2 separate regions of the Homo sapiens genome follow, and region 2 is linked to region 1. Evidence: promoter capture Hi-C in 16 types of primary human blood cells and fetal thymus (Javierre and others, 2016). All regions are on one chromosome and are shown on one strand. Each heading gives the region's core, a stretch centred on a gene start or on the middle of the fragment in contact. The rest is flanking DNA. Distances are from core to core; before and after follow the strand shown. Region 1 holds the start of CACNA1I (calcium voltage-gated channel subunit alpha1 I). Region 2 overlaps ENTHD1 (ENTH domain containing 1).

Region 1 (4,485 bases), core at 133-2,632:
CCATCCCTCATGCAGCCTCCAAGGCCCTGCAGGGCTCCCGCCACACCTGCAGCCTCACCTCACTCCTCTCTGCCCCTCAGGGCTCCAACACTGCCTGCAACTCCTCCCTTCTCCAGGCTTCGCTCCTGCCATGCCCTCCTCCTGCCTCCCACTACCCTCTCTACCCAACCAACGCTCTTCCTTATTGAGGAGTCAGCTCTGGCATTGCCCATGTACACCCAGCAAACACTGCCAGAGCACCCACGATGTGCCAAGCACTGTGCCAGGTGCTAGGGTCCCCATCCCAGTCATCTGACAGTACCCCAGGGGAGGCAAATGTTAGATTCAGAATTCCACAGTTAGATGTGACAGTTAGATATGAAGCAGAGGAGGAATCCCAGAGGGCTTCCCTGAGGAGGTGATGCTTAAGCTGGGATTTTAAGGATGTAGCAAAGGATTTGGCCAGGTCCAGGGGGAAGGGAAAAGCTTTTCAGACAGGGGGAAGAGCCAGTGAGAGGACCCTGAGGCTCAGAAGAGCACAGGGGGGAAGCCAAGTGGTGGGAAGTGAGGCTGGGTGGAACACACAGGCCCTGATGGGTTGGATTAGGACTTTGCTCTGCACCTCCAGGACCATAGCAAATCATGACAGTCTTAAGCAGGGGGAACATGAGCCCACTGGAGGCAGCAAGTGGAGGCAGGAGGCCTGGGAAGAGGCTGCTCGGAGGCACAGTAAGGAGAATGAGTCCTGCCCTGTGTGTTGGGATCGGCTGCCCCGCTGCCCACGCCCACAGTTCCTGATCACGGCTCCCATCCTCTGTATGGTCACGGCCCATCAGGTGGCTCCAGAGTCTGACTGATCTGCATTCCCAGCCCAGCACAGGTCTGGGGCCCACACTCAAGGACTTTCTGAGCCAGCCAGCCACTGGACTGACCCCACAGCCACCAGCAACTTCCAGAACCTTCACATCAGCAGAACACCAGGTCCTCATCCATTTGAGGTCTCCCCAGACCCACCCTCTGAGCTCGCTCACCACCACCAAGGCCCAGTGGCCTCACCGCAGACCTCAGGTCTCCCAGCCGGAGCAAGGTGTGAGCAGCAGGACTCAATCCAGCCCCCCACCCTTCAGCCCCTGCAGGGCCCCGATCAGCCGAGGCTGCGGAGGATATGGGTTGCACACCATCTTGATGCACCAGTTCCGGGGGCTGGTGGTCTGTCGCAGGCAGAAGAAGGCAATAGGCGCCAGGTCTGGGTGTGGGACATGAGGATCAGCTCCATCCAGAGGCTCCTCCAGGCCTGGCGGGGAGGATGGGGGGCTCCGGGGTCCGGGCTGCTCCGTGGTGACTCCTGGCTCAGCGGCTGGGGCTGCTGCAGATGAGGAGGGCGGGGAGGCGCTCTCAGCCATGTCCACACTGAGCTGGGAGCCCTGGGGAAGACAGAGAGGGTGGCACGTGGTGGGGACAGGCCTGGTACATGCTCCCCAACCTGCCTCTCCACCAATAAGTGGACGGATGCAGCTCTGACAGCCCCACCTGAGCCCCACAGGCCCCTCACCCTCACTCTTGCATGAGGATTACGAAACAGCTGAGGGCCCAGCTGCACCCAACTTGGAATCTGCTTCCAAGCTGGGTGATCATGGGGCAAGTCTGCTCACCCTGGCTGAGCCTCAGTTTTGGCAAACGAAGATAGTGGGGAGAATAAAGCCTTCTTAGAATATAATTGTGATATTAACTCTTTTTTTTTTGTCTATTGGCAATTTTCTGTATTTGAAATCTTTCATTATTTAAGAGAAAAAATGTTTAAGTAATTATAGACAGAAAAGAAAGACGGAAGGGAGGGAGAGAGGGAGAGAGGGAGGGAGGGAGGGAAGAAAGGAAGGAAGGAAGGAAGGAAGGAAGGAAGGAAGGAAGGGATCTTAACTTTTTTACAAGACTAGAGCTATGTATTTATTGCACCATCAAAGGTAAAGAAAACTTGCAAGAAAAAAGAGGTGATTGTAAAGACAGACATTATTGCCAGGACAATGCAGGTTACAAAGGCAATGTTGGGGTGCTGCAGAATCAGAGACTGGGGGAACGCTGGCAAGCCAGGAGGGAATCACAGTTGGCTTCCCTGAGGAAGTAACCCCTGAGCTGAGACCTACAGCTGAGCCCTTGACCCAGGGACCTCCCAGCCACTGCCTTACAAGGCTGAGAACCCAGGAATCTTAGAGTCTAACCTCCTTGCCTTACAGATGAAGAAACCGAGGCCCAGAGAAGGGACAGGACAGACATGTAGCAGAGTAACAGCAGAAATAGAATTCCAGTCAAAGGCCAGGCACGTGACTCACACCTGTAATCCCAGCACTTTGGGAGGCCAAGGTGGGTGGATCACCTGAGGTCAGGAGTTTGAGGCCAACCTGGCCAACATAGTGAGACCTCATCTGTACTAAAAATACAAAAATTAGCTGGGTGTGGTGGCACACGCTGTAATCTCAGCTACTCGGGAAGCTGAGGCATGAGAATCACTTGAACCCGGGAGGTGGAGGTTGCAGTGAGCCAAGATCACACCACTGCATTCCAGCCTGGGCAACAGAGCAAGACTCTGTCACCAAAAAAAAAAAAAAAAAAGAATTCCGGTCAGAGCCCGCTTCCTGGGTCTGTGGCTCAGGCAGCTGCACAGGGCCCCGTGCTCAGAAGGGCCCTGAACTTGCTTTAGAATTCTTCTGTCACCAACATGAAATTCTTAATTGCTTATCAAGAGGTCCCACATTTTCATTTTGTTCTAGGTGATGCAAATCATCTTGCTGGCTCCGACTCCAACTCAAAGCACTTCTACTCCCTGGCCTTGTCTGATGCTCACAACAACCTCAGGAGGACTATTATGCCCATTTGGCAGGTGAAGAAACTGAGGCCAAGAGAACAAAGCGGGTTGTCAAGGCTATGCACCCAGCCAAGTGAAGCACTAGGTGGTGTTGAGAGGCCAGAATCCCAGCACCAGACCCCCAGGCGGGCTTCATGACAACTGATGGTGCCCTCGCTGGCCGAGAGCCTCCGCAACCAGTCAATGGCAAGATGGGACGGACAGCCACTCCCAGGGCCTGCCCCTCACCACCTCACCCCAAAGGGTACTAGTCCCTAAAACTTTGTCCACTGGGGTCCCTGGGATCCTAGAACCCCTACAGGGCCAGTCTGAGCCGTGGGATTGAGAGATGGGGTCCACGTCCCTGGTGCCCACCCAGCTGCTGCTGGGCTGTCGACCAAGCCACCCGGAGCTGATGCATTTGGACATTTCTCTGGCTCCCGGGGGCAACGGGCAGGGGTTGGCACCTCCTGCCACTTCCCCTGGCTGGTCAGGGAGGCGGAGTTTTCTCCTGAGCTCAGGGCTTTGCTCTTGATTCCAGAAAAACAGCCACGGGCCTTACATAAGCTCCCAGGCACCTTGGCCTGCCACGTGTCAACCTCCTGGGCTGAAACGCACCCTCCCTAGGGTGGTTCCAGCTCTGCCCACCACCGTGCCAGCCTCGGAGCCCACCACTCCCTCCCCTGGCCATTTGCTCTGGCCAGATTGGACCTCCTCAGGTCCTAGGCCCTGCTCCCGCTCTTCCCTCTCACTGGGGCACCTTCTCCTTCCGCCCAGGCCCTGTTCTCCCAGGCCCTACTGATTCATTCATTTGCCCAATGAGCACCTACTATGTGTGGGCACTGTGTGGGCTTCGGGCTATGCTGGGGCACGAGCCAGACTCAGCACCAGCCCCCATTCAGCCCACACTTCCGCAGAGGAGAGAGACACACCGATCAATTAATTTCTCTCTTTCTGCTTTTCCACAACTCTTATCACCATCAAACACGGTGCATAATTTATGTCTTTATATCTCCATGATTTGGTGTCTGTCTCCCCAGCCTAAGAGAAGCCTGTAAGGGAGGTGTATCCCCTCACTGCTGTATCCCCAGCACCTGGAATGGTGCCTGGAGCATACTAGGTGCTCAATCGATATTTGTTGACTCAGTGAATAAAAAGTGCTGGGAAGTAAATAAACAAGGGGAAAGGTGGGAGTGGAGACAATCATCTTGCCCTCTCTAAAGGAAGAGATGTTTAAGTGAAAACCAAGACGCGGGAGGCCGCAGCCCTGACTGATCTGCTGGAAGAGCACAGGAGGAAGAGCACGTGCGAAGGCCAGGAGAATGGGGCCCGCTCGGTGCATTTAAGGAACACAAGCGAGGCCGAGCCTCGGGCAGGGAGGCGGATGAAACCAAAGAGTTCAGCAGGGCCCTGGGGGAGAACACAGAGGAGCGTGGGTTTTATCCCAAGTTCAGTAGAAGCCACAGGTGGGTTTTAGGCAGGGGAGTGGTGTGCTCTGGTCTGTTTCTAAGCCATCTCTCCAGGGGCTGAAGGGAGAGTGGATGAAGGGGAAGGGGTGGAGCAGGAAGGGCTGGGAGGAGCTGGGCTGGCCTGCCCTTGGCTGCTGGTGAAGACAGGGAGAAGGCGGTGGATTGAGATTTATTCTCGAGGTAAAGCACCTGGTCTCG
Region 2 (4,754 bases), core at 1,977-4,476, 290 kb before region 1:
GAGGGTGGGGCTATTTTAGAAAGGGTAGGCAGAAGGGAGATTCTCTGAGGAGGTGACACTTGAGACCTGAATGAATCAGGGATAGAGCCACACAAAGAGTTCCTGGCAGAAGCAACAGCCAAAACATGGCTCTAAGTAGATGAAGAGCTTGGTGGGATTGCAGAATAAAGCACCAGGGTAGCTAGAGTAGAAGGAATGAGGGGGAAGGTGGAAGGAGATGAGTTCCTGATGTTAAAAATGGGAAAACATGTTCTTTGTGCCTCCAAAACCAATCTTTGTCCATTTTTCAGGGGAAAGATAAGTGTCTGACATATTGTTCCCAAAGGCTAAAATTCACAGCCGACTTCTGTTTATCACACGACACTGAATGGTTACCCAAAACATTGTGGAAATTCGGGTTATGGAATGCAAACTGATCATAGGAAGCTAAGAGTGTTTAGAATGATATGATTTGAAGCAGTTATAAAGTAGATTTGGAAGGAAGAAATAACTAAGAAGTGAGATTAGATAAAATAATCTTGGAAAAGATGGCAACTTGAGCAAAGGTTGCTGACACTGTCCACACCAGTCCTTAATGAAGTGACCCGCAGTGAGAGAACATCGTTGGCCACTGTCATCTAAATATACCCCAAATTTGACCATTTCTCATCACTTCCACTGCTAGTAAATTATAGTTAGAAAACATTAATACTTTAATTCATCACACCTAGAGCCCAAAATGAACATACAAGTGGATCATTAGGGACTTTTCAGTTTATTTTTGAAAGGTGGCTTGGGAAGCCATGTTTGTGAGTTCATCCCAAGATGGAGAAAGGTAAGTGATTTCCTTTATCGTTTTTCTAGGAAGAAGGTTGAAAAAATAGTAATACCTTATATTCGAGTGAGTTATAGGTTACAGTGTACCTTTGTATCTGGGAATTCAACCATACAGATACTGCTTGTGCTGCTTTTCAGATAGAAGACTCAGGCCCAGATAGACCACCTGACTGACTGAAAGTCACACAGATGGTTAAGGACAGAGCTATCACTCTCACTAGAATTCTTGTCTTTGACTGTGCTCTGTCACTCTGTTAAAAAGCAGCAAATTGTTTTGATAGGATGTTACGTCAGAGAAAAGCCAATTGCTCTCCCTTTTCTTGTCCCACCCCAACTGTACCCCTGTAAGGTAACAGATGTTAACAATATTCTGAGTATGCCATCTGTTTGCCTGCCTGCCTGCCTTCCTATATTCTTGCCTGTCTGTCTATCTGTCTTAGTCTGCTTGTGCTGCTATAACAGAGTATCACAGACTGGGTAATTTAGAAAGAAGAGAAATTTATTTTCTCATGGTTCTGGAGGCTGGAGAGTCCAGGTTCAGGGCACTGGCAGGTTCAGTTGTCTAGTGAGGGCTGCTGTCTGCTTCCAAGATGGCGCCTTGATGCTGCATCCTCTGGAAGGGAGGAATGCTGTGTCCTCATGTGACAGAAGGTCCGAAAGGCGATGGTGGAAGGCAAGCAAGAGACAAATGCTGTGGGAAGCCTCTTTTATAAGGACCTTTAGTCTGTTCACAAAGGAGGTGACCTCATGGCATAATCACCTCTTAAAGGCTCCACCTCTTAATGCTATCACATTGGCAGTACTTGAATTTTGGAGGGGATACATTCAAACCACAGTTGTATGTATTTCTTTATCTGCTTCTCTCTTCCGTGTACATATATGGTGATTTCTTTTCCTCTATATGTTACAGCTTCAAATCCTATTGTGTATGTTACTCTAAATCTTTAACCATGTGTCCTGGTCATACATCTAGGTCAGTATATCTAGATCTAATTCATACCCCTTCTTTGTATGCCTATATTGTTTGATTATTGCAAAGTATTATTGCTTTTTCTTTCTTTTTTTTTTTTTTTTTGAGACAGAGTCTCGCTCTCTTGCCAAGCTGGAGTGCAGTGGTGCAATCTCAGCTCACTGCAACCTCTACCTCTTGAGTTCAAGTGATTCCCCTGTCTCAGCTTCCTGAGTAGCTGGGACTACAGGCACATGCCACCATGCCCAGCTAGTTTTTTGTATTTTAGTAGAGACAAGGTTTCACCATATTGGCCAGGATGGTCTTGATTTCCTGACCTCGTGATCTGCCCACTTCAGCCTCCCAAAGTGCTGAGATTACAGCCATGAGCCACCGCACCCAGCCATATATTGCTTTTAAAAGGAAAATCCAATAATGTATTTAAAGTGAAAAATGTAATGCCAGTATATAATTTTATCATATATTAATGACTTATTTACCTTTTAAAGTATAAGAAAAGGAATATACTTATCAGTAGTTCTTTATTTGCTGCAGGTTTTTTCACTGCTGAGATTTTTATTTTTAAAAAAATTTCTGTAGAAAAAAAATTAATTATAGCCTTAACTAGTATTTCCTTTTCTAAGCAGAGTCAATGTATTTTTCAGGTTATTATATCCGGGAAAAATCTAAGCAAGTCATCACATTGCTGATGGATGAACCATTGCTGTGTAAAGAGAGGGAAGTGGCATGTCGGACTAGACAGCGTACCTCCCACTCTATATTGTTTTCTAAAAGACAACTTGGTTCAAGTAACTCACTGACAGCGTGCACTTCTGCCCCCACACCGGATATTTCTGCTTCAGAGAAGAAGTATAAGCTTCCTAAGTTTGGAAGGTTACATAATAAAAGTACGTATAATGAACATTGGCCTAAAATGCAACAGGTATCATTAAAAATGATTTAAAAATATAAAATATTATGTTTTAGTACTAAATTATTAATATTATTTAGTATTACTATTACCATATTAGGCTTCATACTATAGAAAACAACAACGAAGAATATTCAATAGAAGATTTTATGACCTTTTTAAAGTTTATTTGTTTGCTTTATTTATTTATTTATTTATTTTTGAGACGGAATCTTGCTCTGTCTCCTAGGCTGGAGTGTAGTGGCACTATCTCAGCTCACTGCAACCTCTGTCTCCTGGGTTCAAGCAATTCTCCTGACTCAGCCTCCTGAGTAGCTGGGATTACAGGCACCCATCACCATGCCCAGCTAATTTTTGTATTTTTAGTAGAGACAGGGTTTCAGCATGTTGCCCAGGCTGGTCTCGAACTCATGACCTCAAGTGATCCTCCTGCCTTGGCCTCCGAAAGTGCTGGGATTATAGGCGTGAGCCACTGTGCCCAGCCCAGTTTTATGACTGTTTTCTGAATGCAGTTATCTTTGATTCAAATAAAATGTTTTTGAGCTTTTAAGGTATTAAACTAGTGACTACCCTATTTGGCATCGTGATTCAATTTTAAGTTTTTTATCCTTAACTGGAAAGTGAAGGAGTACAGTTTTCTAAGACTAGGTGTCTAGTTATGTGCGTATGAGGTCTCTTTGATCCTGTAACATAAATCAAGTAATTGAAATTTTCTAAAGTATGCTTCAGAATCCTAAAAGTGCTCTAAAATTATTCTAGGACAATACCTTTTACCCTTTCCTTTGCTTAAAACTTTAAATATGGACTACTGAACTTTTATAACAGAGGGATTTATTTATAATGTTATAATAGACATGAGTAGAAAAATGCTATCATCTTTTCTACCAAATTTGCTAAAACTTTAAAAAATGTCATTTTGCTCTAACTTCTCCAGTAGAAACCCTGTTGATAAGTTGTGTATGAGAAATGGACAGCTTGAGGAAGCAAAAACATTAGTGAAATGTGACTTAGAGAACTGTCCCTTTGTATTCAGTACAAATAGATAATTCCAACTGTCAGTTAAGTGCAAAAATGTAACAATGTTACTAGTAATACCAACACAAGTTAAGCTTGCTAAAAATCATTCAGGTACTTTTCTGTCTTAATCAAGAGTTTCAAACGTTCACCCAGTGAGACATAGAGTGAACATCCACACTTGGGATTGGAGAGAGACATTATAAGAGGGTAGCCATTGTAATTATAGTAGCAAATACTACCTACCGGCTTCTAAAAGTGGTGGGATCTTTAGGGGATCTGATTCTTTTGAAATAAATCTCCGAAAGAGACAGCCACTCATTCTGAAATTTTCTCATGGGAGCCTTTAAATCAAACTGATGCTAAAAACAGAGTAACAGAGAAGAATAACCAATTATGACTCATCCAGAGTTTCTTCCCCACTTTTGCTTCTTCGATGTTACCTTTCTTACTCTTCCTTCTTCCTTTCTTTTGTCAGTTCTTTCTTCTTTCATTGTAAACACATAATTATTGAATTTATTTAAAATTTGGATATTCAGCAGAAATTTGGAACTATAGGAGTGAGTAAAATAAGTTTTCTTTTATCATGGAACTAACATTCTAGTGGTAGAGACTGGGATGTCTCTGTCACAAGCATAAAATATGTCAGATAATAACAAGTCCTGTAAAGAAAAGGAAAGCAGGGTCAGGGAACAGAGTGACAGGGGTGGGTTTATTTTAGGTCACGTAATGAGAGAGGGCCTTTTGGAGGAAGTGAATCTTCAAACAGACCTGAATGAAGTGAGGGAGCAACCCACATACAGGCATACCTCGATCGATTGCACTTTGCTTAATTACACTTCACAGATAACGTATATTTTACAAATTGAAGGTTTGTGGCAATCCTGTACCCAAGAAGTTTATTGGCACCATTTTTCTGATAGCATGTGCATACTTTGTGTCTGTGTCACATTTTGGTAGTTCTTGCAATATTTTTAACTTTTTCCTTATTATTATATGTGTCATGGTGATCTATGATCAGTGATCTTAGATGTTACTGTTGTA

Evidence for each region. The method cuts DNA at HindIII sites, captures the fragments that hold promoters and counts their contacts. A CHiCAGO score of 5 or more calls a contact.
Region 2: a contact is called between a fragment that was not itself captured here and the fragment with the promoter of CACNA1I in region 1, in 1 of 17 cell types (naive CD8 T cells). The highest score is 5.3, in naive CD8 T cells.

The regions. Positions count from the first base shown.
Region 1 is chr22:39,567,650-39,572,134 of GRCh38, reverse strand. It overlaps CACNA1I (calcium voltage-gated channel subunit alpha1 I), which reads right to left and starts at 1,382. Exons shown (of 37, transcript NM_021096.4): 1 at 1,147-1,382. The coding sequence starts at 1,382. The HindIII fragment of the contact is 9,228 bases long and covers 468-4,485 here.
Region 2 is chr22:39,859,684-39,864,437 of GRCh38, reverse strand. It overlaps ENTHD1 (ENTH domain containing 1), which reads left to right. Exons shown (of 7, transcript NM_152512.4): 3 at 2,431-2,673. Among named protein-coding and RNA genes, the nearest start is that of ENTHD1, 32 kb to the left of the region's middle. The HindIII fragment of the contact is 1,163 bases long and covers 2,645-3,807 here.